Regions from separate parts of the Homo sapiens genome. Here all the other regions are linked to region 5. The links are contacts of gene promoters, found by promoter capture Hi-C in blood cells and fetal thymus (Javierre and others, 2016). All regions are on one chromosome and are shown on one strand. Each heading gives the region's core, a stretch centred on a gene start or on the middle of the fragment in contact. The rest is flanking DNA. Distances are from core to core; before and after follow the strand shown.

Region 1 (3,112 bases), core at 608-3,107, 1.2 Mb before region 5:
ATCAGCAAGTAAATCCTGATTGATAAAGATACTACAATATATGCACATATATATGTTATAGAATCAATAAAAATTGGATACTTTGCTTTAAAAGTTTGTGAATTTTGCTTTTAAAGAATTTCCCTCAGGGCCGGGCACAGTGGCTCACACCTGTAATCCCAGCACTTTGGGAAGCCAAGGCAGAAGGATCGTTTGAGCCCAGGAGTTTGAGACCAGCCTGGCAACATGGCAAAACCCCACCTGTACAAAAAATAGAAAAATTAACTGGGTGTGGTGGCATGCACCTGTGGTCCCAACTACTCAGAAAGCTGGGGTGGGAGGATCGCCTGAGCCTAGGAGGTCGAAGCTGCAGTGGGCCAAGATTGTGCCACCGCACTCCAACCTGGATATCAGAGTGAAACCATGTCTCAAAAAAGAAAAAAGAATTTAAAAAGAATTTCACTCAGGGTTACAGACACTTAATGTTATTAAGACCCACTAGGAACACCTGTGTATACTGCTGGCTGGTTTTACATGTCACCCCACCCTGAGCAGGTTTCTCTAGGCAGCAATAAAGCTTCTGAGGCAGAGGAAGGGAGAAACCAACACACCTGCCTTTATTTTCCATTTGTTCTCCTTGCATCCAGTTTTCACCACACTTCCCCATGCTTTCACTACAGTTCTGCCAGGCTCCTCTCAGGCAATCTCTTTACACCAGGGGCCACATAATCCTAAAGAGGGAAGGGAAGATAGCATCAAACTTTCACCCAATTATTTCAGGCAATCCATCTCCTTCCCTCCTCCTTGCTTGCTTGCTTCCTTGCTTAAAAAATGCAGAATAGGCCGGGCACGGTGGCTTACACCTGTAATCCCAGCACTTTGGGAGGCCGAGGCGGGCGGATCACGAGGTCAGGAGATGAAGACCATCCTGGCTAACATGGTGAAACCCCGTCTCTACTAAAAATACAAAAAATTAGCTGGGCGTGGTGGCGGGTGCCTGTTGTCCCAGCTACTTGGGAGGCTGAGGCAGGAGAATGGTGTGAACCTGGGAGGTGGAGCTTGCAGTGAGTCGAGATCATGCCACTGCACTCTAGCCTGGACGACAGAGTGAGATTCTGTCTCAAAAAATAAATAAATAAGAAAGACATGAAATATATTAAATATATAAATGAGCTTTCACCTCGTCATAACTTTTAAGTTAAATTAGACAAAGAGCCAATGCTATTCTATTCGAGAACCTTTGAAGTGCTCAGATGCTGCTTACACTCATCAGAAAAATACTCCATCTTATTAAATGTGAGGCCTGAAGAAAACCTAGTGTTAAAGAAAATCAATTAAAGATAAATAAAACAGAGGGGCAAAGCCCCGTTCACCAGCTTGGGTTCAGATGAAGCTCCCCCGACAGCCACTACTCCTGTGCTGTTGCAGGCTATTGTAACGGGGGTTCCACGTCATCCAGGCCACAGGCCAAGCCTTGGATGCACCTGCTCTTTGCCCAGCTGCCCCAGGGCAGAGCTCTGCACAGATCACAGTGCCTTAAGACAGGATGATAACACCCCTCAGTGTTTTCCTTAGAGTGCTCCATGCACCACAGCCATTTTTCAAAGCATCCCCCAGGCCAGGGTTAAGGCAGAACAGGTTTTCCAGTCATAGCCTCCCACTTAGCTGAGTAACATTTCTTGAGTGATCTTGTAAATGAATAGTTTGAAAGAAAAACAGGCAACTAAGGCAGTGCGGTCACATTGTTTGAGAATACAGATGCAAAATTACTTGTGAATTTACTTGCTCATTTTTCCAAAGGATGTAATCTGTACACTTAGAAGTATTTCACTCACATGGGGCTCTTTGTAGCAACACAAACCGAACAAGCTATTTCTGAAACTCATATTTAACTGTGATTTGATATCATCTTGATTTTCTTAATTTTTTTTAAAATTGTGATAAAATACACAACATAATATTTACCATCTTAACCATTTTTAAATGTACAGTTCAGTGGCAGTGAGTACATTCACATTGTTATATAACAATCACTACCCTCCAGCTCCAGAATCTTTTCAACTTGCAAAACGGAAATACTGACACATTAAACAGTAACTCCCATTTCCCCTTTCCCCCAGTGCCTGGCAACCACCATTTACTTTCTGTCTCTATGAATTTTACTACTCTAGACACCTTATAGAGTGGAATTGCTCAGTATTATTCTTTACTGACTGGCTTCTTTCACTTAGCGTAGTGTTTTCTGGCTCATCCGTGTCATGGCATGTGGCAGTATTTCTTTCGCCCGGGCACTTTGGGAGGCTAAGATGGAGAGGCTGAGAGTTGAAGACCAGCCTGGGTAACATTGCAAGACCCCCATCTCTACAAGAAAATTAAAAAGGCTTGAGCCCAGGAGATTGAGCCTGCAGTGAGCCATGATCATGCCCCTGCACTCCAGCCTGGGGAAAGAATGATACCCTGTCTCAAAGAAAAAAAAAAGAATTTCCTTCCTTTTAAAAAGATGGAATTATATTCTATTGTATGTATATACCACATTTTGTTTATCTGCAGATGGGCCCTTGGATTGTTTCTACCTTTTGTATCAGTGTGTGTGTGTGTGTGTGTGTGTGTGTGTGTGTGTGTGTGTGTGTGTGTATTTCTAGAAACTTGTTATTCTCCTGAGTGTTAAACTGTTTTAAATGTTTGGTTTTTCATTTCTAGAACATTTTCCTATCCTAAAATTTACCTATCTGGCTATCTATCATCTATCACTTTTCCTAAGGATCTTTAGTTGTTTACTTTTTAATGAAGTATAATATACGTTATGATAGTGTATTTTATGTATCCTCATATCCTTTCACTGTGGATTTAATTTTTAGAAATAACAAAAAGTCACATAGGGCAAATTCATTAAGCTGAGTGGGTGATTAAGTTAACAATAGTAATGACCATGTATTAAGTGCCTACTATGTGCCAGGCACTGTGCTAGCATTTCACACCCATTATATCATTCAGTCTTCACACCCCTGTTTGGTGGTTATTAATGATTACTAATATTCATTTTATAGATGAATAAACTGATACTCAAGGCCTTAATTGCCTTTCCTAGGGGTGCACAACTAGAAAAAAGGCAGAGCCAGATCTGCACCCAAGT
Region 2 (2,950 bases), core at 275-2,774, 1.3 Mb before region 5:
GTATGCTTCTCTAGAGTAGGAGTGAATTTGTCTGAAGGAAAGAATAATGTGGAATTCTCTCCCTCTTTTTGCTATCCATGGGTCATTTATATTCCTAAAGCCGATGGGCATTTACTCCTTTGTTCTACTCCTGAGGAATAAATTTGTGAAAAACAAACAAAGAAGACTTCTTATATACCAAACCTCAAGCAAATATTAGCCAGCACCAAATGGTAAATGACCACTGGAAACTAAACTTTGCCTTTGAGGTCACAGCGCGACGTCCACACCCTCACCTGTTGTACATTGTCGTGAGAAGGCTCAGAGTGAGTTCCGGAGCTCTGGGATGCACTTGTCCTGGGTTTTCCTCCCTGGCCTTCTGAAACAGCTCTTGGAGTGCCTGAGAAAGTTGCTGCACAGAAAGGGAGTGCTTGCGAGCTTCCCAGAAACTTGGACGCAGTAGGACCTGCTGAATCAGGGAGCTGTCAATCAAGTCCACTGTAGGAAGCAAATGAAGAATTGAGCCTTATTTTCTGATGGGAACAAAAGGCTTCAAATAAAGCAAATGTCATTTGGTGTTTTATAATTAAGACTTTTTATGGTCGCTATTTTCTTTTAAGGGGAATGAAATATGACTACTATTTGGACATATATTCCTTGTGTATACTTCAGGCGTTACTATTCTAGCGATTCATTTGATTTTGGAAAGGTGCATCTGTTAGTAAAGCATAGTTGTAACATTATTACCAGTACAGTTTCTAGGATGTTGTTTTATAGAAAGAAGTTAAAAAGGGAAGTGAGAAACGAAAAATACGCTTTCCAAGAAAGTTATGACACTGTGGTAAAAAGTTGGGGAAAACATTTTTATACTCTTCATTAAGTGGATTGAATAAATTTACCTTTCCTGTTCAAATATAGTTTTTCTTGTCTGCAGCCCAGCTTCAGAAGCAATATGGTGTGTTGAAAAGCAATTGCCGTAGTTAAATACAAAACAGTGATCTTCATAAAAGAGCAGTTACTCTTCTGTAAAGATCTTTAGGCTAAAGAGTCTGAGAATTCTGCAACTCAGTAATACCACTGTTAACAATCTTGGTTCCATCAGTATTATTATCTAGAGAAGGCACTTAATAAAACTACAGCTGCTTACAAAAAATAATGGTTTATTTCTTATACTGAATATTTTTTAACCACCTTCTCCTAAAATTTTTACAAGGCAATGAATAGAAACAAGAATGTAATAGAGCTAACCCCATAGCTTCTTGCAGAGAGAGGATGACAGACAAAATTAATAAACAGCCACTTGCACCATCTGAGAGGTGGGGATATCAAGAGCGCCAAGAGCTCCTGGCATTTAAAACGCTTCAGCCTGTGAAACCATAAAACCCTGGGTTTCTCTCTACTTCGTAAATCAACCTCAGATAAGAAATCTAGCAAGTATAATAAAAATTTTTATTTGTTCTCTGATATTGCTTTTAAGAGGAGAGTCTAAGGAACAGAGGAACAAGTTTCAGAATGTGACTTAAATAAAAACCTGGCTGCAGGTGGTGAAGGCTGTAAACTCTTTTATCGTTAAAACCTGTCACCTCAGCCAGGCATTCTGAACACAGGCCGATTTCATCTCCTGCTGAGAGTTCTATATTACACCAAACCAGATAATAGTGGTGTCCATTAATCTCACCACAAGATTTATACAGCGATGTGTCCCCGATCTTCCTATTTGGAGCTCATGTTATGCTTTATCTCAGTGTTTGGGATTTTCTGTTTTTAAATTTTTGTTTGGATATCTTTTCTAGGTAACATTTTTCAACCACTGATTTTGTGTATTGTTAATATTTCCCATGAGTGTTATTTATATTCACTGTTTCTGATGCCAGAGATAACAAAAAGTTGAAAACTGTGCATCCACAAATTACGCTACGGAACATACTCAGGCATTCGTGACTGGGACATGTGAACAATTGCTGCTAACTTTCTCTAATGGGAGAAATTCTCCAGGAAAATGCATAATTGGGGGTAAATTTTTAGCTTTTTGTTTGTTCCTGGAATAATAAATAATAGTTATAAGTGAGTTTCTTTATCTAGAGCAGTAATCTACATAAAACTGTTTTTAAAACCAAAAATTTCTTCTTCAAAGGAACCTAATACAGAAACACAGTATAAGGCCAGGCGCGGTGGCTGATGCCTGTAATCCCAGCACTTTGGGAGGCCACTGTGGGCAGATCAGTTGAGCTCAGGAGTTCAAGACCAGCCCGGGCAACATGGCGAAACCCTGTCTCTACTAAAAATACAAAAAATTGGCAGGGTGTGGTGGCTCACGCCTGTGGTCCCAGCTACTCGGGAGGTTGAGGTGGAAGGATGGCTTCAGCCTGGGAGGCAGAGGTTGCAGTGAGCTGAGATCCCTCCACTGCACTCCAGCCTGGGTGACAGAGTGAGACCCCAGCTTACACACACACAGACACACACACACACACACACATACAAGCAAACACGGTATGGAAAATAGAGAAGGATGGAGTTGTTCCTGCTGAGGATGTGGTCTTTGAATCGTCCCACCTTGCTTGCAACTCCTCTTCCCACCTGGCTAACTCTTTTTTGCCCTACCCTACATTCACATATATTTTGTGAAGCCCAATTTGAAAACCACTGCCCTATATAACTTTTTAGGCAGGAGGAAAAATATTTTTAAATGTCAGCCTTCAGTAGAAATGTCATATATATAACATAACTTCTCTTAGGTCTGATATGATAAATTTCAGAAATCATTTTACGTGAAGTGATTTTTCTTTCATGCAGTGAGAAATCAATAACTTTAGATATGCTGAATGCCTGATGTGTTTCATAGCTTGGACCCAGTTTATTTTTCACCTTGGAAAATTTTCACAGGATACATGTTTTAGTAAAAACATTTTACCTTATTTTGCCTAGATAACAGTAGGAGAAAAGAAAAGAAAAGAAAACCATACATTCAATC
Region 3 (2,980 bases), core at 340-2,839, 1.3 Mb before region 5:
CATGATCTTACTTTCCAGCACAGCTCCAATGGCTGTCACAACAGGTTTTCTGTGCCTTTTTTGGTACAAGAACAGGTAAGTCACAGGAAACGTTTTCTGTGAAATGATCTTGCAAACAGCATTAAGAAATTCTGTTGAATTTCAAAGAAAAGATATGATTAAAGGTGACTTTTGGAAGTAGAAGCCTCGAAGAAATGAGGAGGAAAAATAATTGTAATTTAAGGAGTCCATTTCATTTCTGATACAGAATAATCACAAAAACAAGTATATACTGCTGGCTTTAGTTCCCCATGAACGATAACCAGCAGGATATCCACAAGGCCACCCCTGTTTTCTGTGCTTCCCTCCTCCTGGGCTGAGTCCTGCAGAGCTGCAATAGGAAGTTCTCTGTGACCAGGTGGTTAGCATGAAGACGCATGTCGATGGTGGCCTCAAATTCCACTTTGAAGTTGGTCTTCAGCATGCGGCAGGTAAACAGCCTGGAGAAGACCATGTATATAGGGACAGAGAGGCCCCTACAAATGTCCCCATGGGCATCTGAATATAAGGAAACTCTGTGGCATCATTGGCATAGCTTTTTGCACACCCACAGGTCTCCATGTGCACCAGTTGCAGCCCCATGCCTTTTCACCACCAGCTCTCCTGTAAGCAGCTGCACGATGACACAATTCATTGAGTTGGGGTGTTCTCGAATGAGAAATCTGGGGAGCAAGGCTCTCTCTTTGATATTCTGTAAGGTTGCAGGTATAATCTGTGAAGTCCACAGGACTTGGAGTCAACTTCCCCTCCTGAGGAGCAGAGTGGATGGTAAATTCACCGGCCTTTGTCAAGTCCTTGGTCAACAGAGACTGCCTCATGTCACAGCGTAGTGTATACTGAATGTCTGATAATAAGTCTCATACAGAACTTTGTTACCCCTCACATACAGAAGAAATGCGAAATAAATTTGTTTTGCCATAGGGAAATTTCCCTGGCTTCATCCTTTCTATGGCACTGTTGATAATCTGGATAGGTTTAATGGAATTATAAAAAGCTTCAAAACTGCCCACACTTTTGGCACTGAGCTGGGGGATTGCAATTCCTTCCATTGTCAAAGACACTACTTGATGTGGGACTGAATCCTTACAAGATACGACCACCACACTGGAGAGCATTTCTCCAGCATGAGAAACTATTTGCTCTTCCATCTTGATGTCCAGGGAGGTCCCTGTTTTGAATTCTCCACAGCAGCCAACACTTCTGACCTCACATCAAGTTTTTCTTATCAATTTTTCAGGGACCCTTTTAATAGCATCATTTATCTTATTACCGAAAATATTTTTCTAAGTCTAGGGCTTATTTTTAATTTTGTTTATACTATCATTTACCATAACAAAATGTTTAAAATTACATGCTATCATATATATCTGTCTATTCCTTCATGATTTTTTGTTTTTCTTTCTTCCTTAGGAGATGTTCTTTTTTCTAATATTTATTTTAAATTCTTTTTACATTTAAATTTCAATCAATTTGGAATTTGTTTTAGTATATGGGGCAAAATAAGGGCCAATTTTCCTTTCAGATGGATAGCCAATTATGCATTATTTTTCCATGAATTGAAATATCACCTTTATCATATATTAGGTTCCCATATATGCTTAGATCAATTATTATATTTTGTATTCTCATCCTTAGACCTACATGTTCATTCCCGTTTTATACTATATTATTTGGTCATAGTAGTTTTATAGTAAGTGTTAATATCTGTTGTATTAACATCTGTTCTTCAGATATTAATGTCTCTCACTATTCTTCAGTCTCATAATTTTACTATTCTTGTACAACTATTCTTCCAACATACCTTCAAAATTATTTTATCCTATTTAGAAAACCTTGTGATTCTATCTGGAAATGCATTAAATTTAAATACAGTAGATTATGCTCTATAAGGCTACCATGAACAGTGAATTAGGAAATACTGAACCCATTGTTCCTAGAGAAAATACAGGGTTAGGTTCCTGCAAGCCTCTGGCCACAATATTTTTGTCAACCAATCAATGCACAACCTTGTTTTATGTGTTTCTGTATAAAGATGCTTTTTAAATATATATTGTTGATTCATTAGCATTAAACTCATGGTCAACAGCAATATAAATCATACCTGAATGAAGCTTATTTAACGTGTGTATTTTTTCATTAAGGCACATCGTAGCCTTGCTGTGCTTGGGAACACTAGACAGCAATTCAGTACCGTGCTTTGGGGCCATTTGCCAAAGTAAAATCACCAACAAAAAGCACAAATATAAAAAAACAAGACACAAAATAGACACGAAAAGGACACTTGCTTATAGAATGAGGGCTGAAACAGTAACACAGAGCACTATCTGGTTTGACCTCAGCTGGGAACACGTGCATCAGGCAACTCAAAATTTTTTTGCCACTCTGCTTATGTCTGCAAATACTGAAAAAGCACCAGGAGTGTTAATTTTAGGGTTACAAATAAATTTTTGCAAGTAGGCAAATTTGTAAGTATTGAATCTGCAAATAACAAAAATCAGCTATTAATTTTTGGAGCAGGTACATTCTTATGCTAGTCTTCTCATTTAGAAATTTGGCATTTTTTCCTTTTGTTCAGGACTTGTTTTCTGTACTCAATAAAATATTATAATTTTATTTGGGTCTTGTATCTTTTTTGTTAAACTTTTTTGTAGTTTCTTTTAAAAATAATTTTTACATGTATTTTGAATGAGATTCTTACAAAATTTATAGCTGGTTATTGCTAGTAGAGTGAAGAATTTTGTATATGTTTATTTTATTTTTCCACCATCATTTGAAGCCTATTAATTCTAGTAATTTTTGCTAGTTACTTGGGGTTTCTTAGTAATTCACAATTAAATTAGCTACAAAGAGAAGTAATTCTGTCTGTTATTTTTCTGCAGTTTAATTTTCTTTTTAACTATGTTTTCAAGAACTTCCTGAAATATTTAATAAGAGTGATGAT
Region 4 (3,102 bases), core at 412-2,911, 1.3 Mb before region 5:
AAAATAGTACTGATGCGGGGTAGGAGAGAATTGATATGTATATTTAATTCAGAATAGTTATTCGGGGACTATGTGAGGGTTGACGTTGACCCAGCTTGAAAAGGGATTTATAAAATTGATATAAATGATCTAATGTCATAGATTAGTGAGAGTAAAACTTAACTCCCTTTGACATTGACTATGCATAGGATATGTTACTATAATCTCCTGACATAATTTGTTCTTTAGTAAAGACAGCACAATAATGTGAGAGAAAATAGCACTATTAATAGATTGGGTCTCGATCTTTAACTACTTACACTCTCTCAAGCAGGTAGATCATTTCTCTGGGCTTCATAATCCTTGCCTGTAAGAAGGGGCTGGACCAAATGAAATTTTAAGATTTTTCTTCTGCTTTGAAGATTCTATGATTTTAATATTTATTGTGTTTGATAACAGAATACTAGTTGATCAGCAAGTTTGGAAAATAGAAGATGTCTTCACATTACAAGTTGTGATGAAGTGTATTGGAAAAGATGCACCGATTGCTCTTAAGAGGAAACTGGAGGTAAACACATGAATTTTCTCTAGTGGATGAGATTTGAAAAAATCTTTCTTATAACCTGCTATCACTGCCTGAAGTCAATTTTCTAGGAGGACATTGCTGGGCTTTTAGGTTTAGCTTCACTAAAGTGAATGAATAGAAGTACCCTTATATTTATTTATCTGTATATATATACATGTATATTTATTTATCTGTCTGGGTCATATTACCCAAACTTCATCCTTTTTGTTTAAAAATAAATGTTTAGGCCAGACATGGTGGCTCACACCTGTAATCCCAGCACTTTGGGATGTCAAGGGCAGGGAGATCTCTTGATCCCAGGAGTTTGAGACCAGCCTGGGTGACTGAGCAAGACCCTGTCTCTGCAAAAAAAAAAAAAAAAAAAAAAAAAATCAAAGAATTAGCCAGGCGTGGTGGTACATGCCTGTAGGTGGTGCATGCCTGTAATCCCAGCTACATGGGCGGCTGAGGCAGGAGGATCACTTGAGCCTGGGAGGTTGAGGCTCCAACCTGGGTGACAGCACAAGACCCTGTCTCAATAAAAATAAAAGTTTAATTTATTTTGTCACAGATAGTAAATTAAATTAAAATTTGTTTTTTCTTTAGATGAAAGCCTTGAGGGAATTAGACAGATTTTCTGTTTTGAATAGCCAACACATGTTTGAAGTACTAGCTGCCATGAATCACCGATCTCTTATACTCCTGGATGAATGCAGTAAGGTGGTCCTAGGTAAGAGGAATTTTTCTTTCATCATTTGCAATACCTGAGCTTCTGTTTTAGACTATTTTTGTTTTGTTTTAAAAACTTTGCTTTTATATGAAAAAAGAATAAAGCATGTTGTATTCAAAACAATCAGGTAATTTTTGTTTGTTTATTTAACTCATTCTTCAAGATAATATCCATGGGTGTCCTTTAAGAATAATGATCAACATATTGCAGTCCTGCAAAGACCTCCAGTACCATAATTTGGATCTCTTCAAGGGACTTGCAGATTATGTGGCTGCAACTTTCGACATCTGGAAGTTCAGAAAAGTGAGTACATTAACAATTTAGAATAAGCCTCACAAACTTTTAAAACACTAATTCATGTAGCATTTTAAGTATTTCTCTTTCACCTTTATAGTAGTTAAGATACCAAAATATTCCAATGCTGAATTGACTTTTGAAAAATTAGCTCCTTATTATTCCTGTCTGGGGGCTACTTGCTAATATGAATAGTCCCCAACTTAGGATGGCTTGACTTAATATTTTTTGACTGTTTGATGTTGCAAAAGCAATACGCATTCAGTAGAAACCATACTTTGAATTTTGAATTTTGTTGTTTTGCTGGGTTAGTGATATGTTGTATGATGCTCTCTTTTCATGCTGAGCAGTGGCAGCAAGTCGCAGCTCCCAATCAGCTGTGCAATCATGAGGGTAAACAATGCATATTGTATTCAATAAATTACTTGAGATATTCAACACTTTTATTATAATATAGGCTTTTTGTTAACTCATTTTGCCCAACTATAGGTGAATGTAAGTGTTCTAAGCGTGTTTAAAGTAGGCTAGGCTAAGCTATGATGTTCAGTAAGTTGGATGTATTAAATGCATTTTGACTTAAAATATTTTCAATTTATGGTGAGTTTGTTGGGATATACCCCACCGTAAGTCAAGGACAATCTGTATACTATTCTATCCTTTGGTCATCTTTCTATTTGAAACAAAAATTTGCTCTTCTTTTTCGTTTTAAAAGGGTTGTATGGGCTGGGCGCGGTGGCTCACGCCTGTAATCCCAGCACTTTGGGAGGCCAAGGTGGGTGGATCACCTGAGGTCAGGAGTTCAAGACCAGCCTGGCCAACATGGTGAAACCCCATCTCTACTAAAAATACAAAAAGTAGCCGGGCATGGTGACGTGTCCCTGTAATCCCAGCTACTAGGGGGGCTGAGGCAGGAGGACCACTTGAACCTGGGAGGTGGAGGTTGCAGTAAGCTGAGATTGTGCCACTGTACTCCAGCCTGGGCAATAAAGATCAAAACTCTGTCTCAAAAAAAAAAAAAAAAAAAAAGGGTTGTATGGTACTTTTGTTAGATATTTAGCATGATTTCCGTGTTTATACTTTGTTCTTGTTAGATTTCAAATAATAAAGATGGGTGATGTGACAGGCTTGGGGTTTTTGAAGAATAAAATGTCACTACTTAATGGTCATGTCCATTGTTTTATCCAGAGTAAAAGCCTTTAAAATCAGGAGCTGTGTTAAGAATATAAACATTTAATGAAGCACCTGGTAAAAACTTCTTTTTGCAATGAAATAGGTGATAACTGTTAGATCTCTAGGTTCAGTTTATTTTGGAGAGTAAGGTAAATATTGAGTTTACTGTGGAAATTGGTTATAGAAAGAGAAGTAATAATCCTAAGTAAGAAAGATTGAGAAGGAAATTGGAGGTGAACTTGAAAGTTTATTTTAATCATAATGTTTCAGTTCCATTTTCACTTATAGGTATGAATATTAAATATAGAAATTTTGGGGTTATGTCTTACATGTTAGAATCTAGGAAGTATTTAAGTTTGGGAAT
Region 5 (3,243 bases), core at 324-2,823:
GCAACATGGCGAAACCCTGTCTCTACCAAATGTACAAAAATTAGCCAGGCGTGGTGGCTTGTGCCTATGGTTCCAGCCACAAGGGAGGCTGAGGTGGAAGGATCGCTTGAGTCCAGGAAGTCGAGACTGCAGTGAGCCATGATCACGCCACTGTACTCCAGCCCGAATGACAGAGTAAGACCCTGTCTCAAAATAAAATAAAATAAAATAAAATAAAATAAAATAAAATAACAATAATAAAAACCCTAATGAGGTCAATACTATTATTATTCCCATTCTACAGATTAGGAAACAGAAGCGCTAAGTAAACTGCCCAAGATTACACAACTAGGAAGTGACCAAGCAGGAATTCAAACTGAAGTAGTCTGGCTTTATAGTTTTTGCTATAAACCATGACATTGTAAAAATATTCATTGTAAAGAAAAACTCATCAGGAATTAGTATCATTTCTTCTATGTATATCTATCTATTGTAGGTGCAATTTAACCTAATATTCATCTCCTGTCTAAAAGACTATGTGACCAAGGTTACAAATGTCTACTGATATTTTTAGAGACTAGATATATAGCCCAGCTTTTGTTAAGGCATTTTCTTGAAGTCAGTCAGTCAAAAACTGCCTTGTATTTTAAGTATGCCAATTATAATTTACATGTAGTATTTTATAATAAAATACTTTATAAATACAAATCACAACTCACTACGATTACTTAAAATATAGAGAAAAAAATTCAGCTGTTTCTCTCTGGTCCCTTCCAAGGAAGAAAAAAGAAGAGAGAAATAAACTTCTAAATAAGTTTACAACAGCATGGCTCAATCTCAGTTTAACCTGGTAAATTCAAATTTGTCTTGCTTTGCAAGGTATACATCCAGACCAGTCTCAATTTGTCATCCAAATATATATCTCAGTAGTAATTTATTTTTGTTTAAGGGATGAGTGTGAGATTTTCTTATCTTGATTTTTTAGCTTAATAATTCTTTCCTACAAGACCAAACCATGCTTGTCATCAGTCATGTGGTGTCATTTACTATACATTAAAAACGGACAGAGTCGACAGAAAGAACAATCGTTTTCTGGAAGCCCCAGCCTGATGTAGGTTAAAAGCTCTGCTGGGGTTTGGTTTTATAATCCCCAGGCGGGGATGGCAGGGATACTAATAACGCACTCAACAAGATCACCTACTATTTCAACTACTTTCTCCTCCTATTACATACCTGATTCACAAAAATAAGCAGACAATGCATCATGTAATCTCCCCTCACCCATTAGCCATTGCAGTGTGGTACAATCTCCAGCACGTAATAAAAACCTGAGCATGCAAGAAACAGCAAAATCACTGCTATCCCTGGGAGCTGCTCGGATATTTACAATGCAGTCGTCCCCACCCCATCCCCCAAACTGGCCGGCCAGGCAGCACAGAAGCAGACGGATGCTCACCTGGGCCCCGGCTGCTACTCTCCATTCACCTGCGGGGCCTTCAGTCCGCTCCTGGAGGGGCTTGACTCCCGCAGCCTGCCGCCCGCCTCACGGTGACAGCCCGCCCGGGCGCTGACCATCCCGGCCCGGCTCTGTTTACAAGCGGCTTCTCGCGGTCCCACTCTGAAATGCTTCCGCCGGCGGCCCGGGCAGCCAGAGCCGGACACACAAGGTTCCAGGCCGCGAGGACGAGTCTTTCCTGCCCGAGGGACCCGGCAGCTAGGCAAGGCCTGACCGCACCCGCCAGGCCTCCTTATTTCTTTGCTTTCTTATATACAGTTCCTCTTGTACACATTGTGAAAGCAATGGCGTGTGTCGTGGAGTCTCCTCACTGCTCCACCCAACGCCAAAATGGGTGTTTGCGATTGGAAAATGTCACTTAGAACATGTCAGGATCGGGCTGGTTTTTAGCAGCTCCCTTGTCTAAGGGAATTAATTACTCAAATAAGTTCTTTCCAAAAGTGGGACTATTCTGGAGATTGCTTCTCATTTCCGGTTTTGGGGCTGCAGTGAAAATCCGTTTTCACTGTCCTTTCCTACGCAGGTTGAAAAGGGGTGGTTTTGAGGTGAGGTCTTCACCCCCACTTGCGGATTCCCAGCAAAATAGGGTGTGCGTGTGTGTGCACGCGGGCAGGACTGCCTGGTAAGACCGCCCACATCCCACCTGCAGTGACTGTGGTCGCTTTGCAGGGATATGCTGGTCTGATTGGACAGACCTTCCTTGCAGTTTCCTGTCTGTTTTCCATCATAGCACACTTCTTAGCCATTTTCTCACTTTATAAGTACACACTTATTTATCAGTTTTATTGGTTTTCCCACGCTCACCCATCTCACCTATAAACTCCCTGAGGGCAGGCACTATTTCAGTTTCACTCACCACCATCTAGTAGGCACCTAGCACAGGCCCAATGTATATATATCTGAATAAATGAATGAACAAAGGAATGATAAAAAAAAAAAAAGGTCAAAGGGGTCAGGGATGAAACAGAAATCTAAAACTCTGATTCCTCTTCCCACCTTCCCACCCTCCAGAAGATTAATAAGCAAATCTTTAAGCTTTGAGTTAAGAAAAAATTTCCTTTGGTTGATATTCAAAGTTTAAATAAGCTTTCTTTAAACCCTGCAATTTGAGGTACTTTTTTTTCTGTTTTGCTAGAGACAGGATCTCACTCTGTGCCCCGGCCAGAGTGCAGTCGCACGATCATAGCTCACTGCAGCCCTGAACTCCTGGGTTCAAGGGATCCCCCCAACTCAGCCTCCTGAGTAGCTAGGACTACAGGCACGCATCACCACAACGTGGCTAACTTCTTTTTTCTTTCTTTCTCTTTTTTTTTTTTTTGTAAAGGCAAGGTCTCCCTGTGTTGCCCAGGATGATCCTGAACTCCTGGCCTCAGGCAATCCTTCTTCCTTGCCTTCCAAAGTGCTGGGATTACAGGTGTGAGCCACCTCACCTGGCCAGAGGTACATTTTTTGTTTTGTTTTGTTTTAATTACCAAAAGAGAATATTTGCAGTATTCTCTTTTGCCTCAGGACTTTGTACATGTGATTCCCTCTGATGAGAGTTCTCACTCCTGGCCCATCCTCTTACTTAGGCTGGCTAATTTCTCTTTGCTCTTTAAGAAGCAGGTAACAGGTGCTTGGTCTCTCAAGTCACTTGCTTGGTCTTCTTCCAAGTGTTCTTTTCTTCTTTTCCTTCCCTTCATTACTACTCTAAAGCTTTTTAATAAACTTTCACTCTAAAAAAAAAAAAAAAAAAGGCCGGGTGTGGT

Evidence for each region. The method cuts DNA at HindIII sites, captures the fragments that hold promoters and counts their contacts. A CHiCAGO score of 5 or more calls a contact.
Region 1: a contact is called between a fragment that was not itself captured here and the fragment with the promoter of PLEKHM3 in region 5, in 1 of 17 cell types (naive CD8 T cells). The highest score is 6.6, in naive CD8 T cells.
Region 2: a fragment that was not itself captured here is called in contact with the fragment with the promoter of PLEKHM3 in region 5 in 1 of 17 cell types (total CD8 T cells); the score reaches 7.2 in total CD8 T cells.
Region 3: a contact is called between a fragment that was not itself captured here and the fragment with the promoter of PLEKHM3 in region 5, in 3 of 17 cell types (naive CD4 T cells, total B cells and activated CD4 T cells). The highest score is 6.1, in naive CD4 T cells.
Region 4: a contact is called between a fragment that was not itself captured here and the fragment with the promoter of PLEKHM3 in region 5, in 1 of 17 cell types (total CD8 T cells). The highest score is 6.1, in total CD8 T cells.

Annotation. Positions count from the first base shown.
Region 1 is chr2:206,796,097-206,799,208 of GRCh38, forward strand. FASTKD2 (FAST kinase domains 2) reads left to right here. Exons shown (of 12, transcript NM_001136193.2): 12 at 1-93. Among named protein-coding and RNA genes, the nearest start is that of MIR3130-1, 14 kb to the left of the region's middle. The HindIII fragment of the contact is 2,607 bases long and covers 555-3,112 here.
Region 2 is chr2:206,707,027-206,709,976 of GRCh38, forward strand. It overlaps DYTN (dystrotelin), which reads right to left. Exons shown (of 12, transcript NM_001093730.1): 3 at 276-477. Among named protein-coding and RNA genes, the nearest start is that of DYTN, 9.9 kb to the right of the region's middle. The HindIII fragment of the contact is 4,270 bases long and covers 1-2,950 here.
Region 3 is chr2:206,686,156-206,689,135 of GRCh38, forward strand. All of the region lies in intron 9 of DYTN (dystrotelin), which reads right to left. It also overlaps the pseudogene VPS26CP1. Among named protein-coding and RNA genes, the nearest start is that of DYTN, 31 kb to the right of the region's middle. The HindIII fragment of the contact is 1,117 bases long and covers 1,032-2,148 here.
Region 4 is chr2:206,770,744-206,773,845 of GRCh38, forward strand. It overlaps FASTKD2 (FAST kinase domains 2), which reads left to right. Exons shown (of 12, transcript NM_001136193.2): 4 at 439-547; 5 at 1,151-1,274; 6 at 1,438-1,577. Among named protein-coding and RNA genes, the nearest start is that of FASTKD2, 6.7 kb to the left of the region's middle. RefSeq lists an enhancer at 1-155. The HindIII fragment of the contact is 4,118 bases long and covers 1-3,102 here.
Region 5 is chr2:208,023,954-208,027,196 of GRCh38, forward strand. PLEKHM3 (pleckstrin homology domain containing M3) reads right to left here and starts at 1,574. Exons shown (of 8, transcript NM_001080475.3): 1 at 1,436-1,574. The HindIII fragment of the contact is 3,995 bases long and covers 1-2,528 here.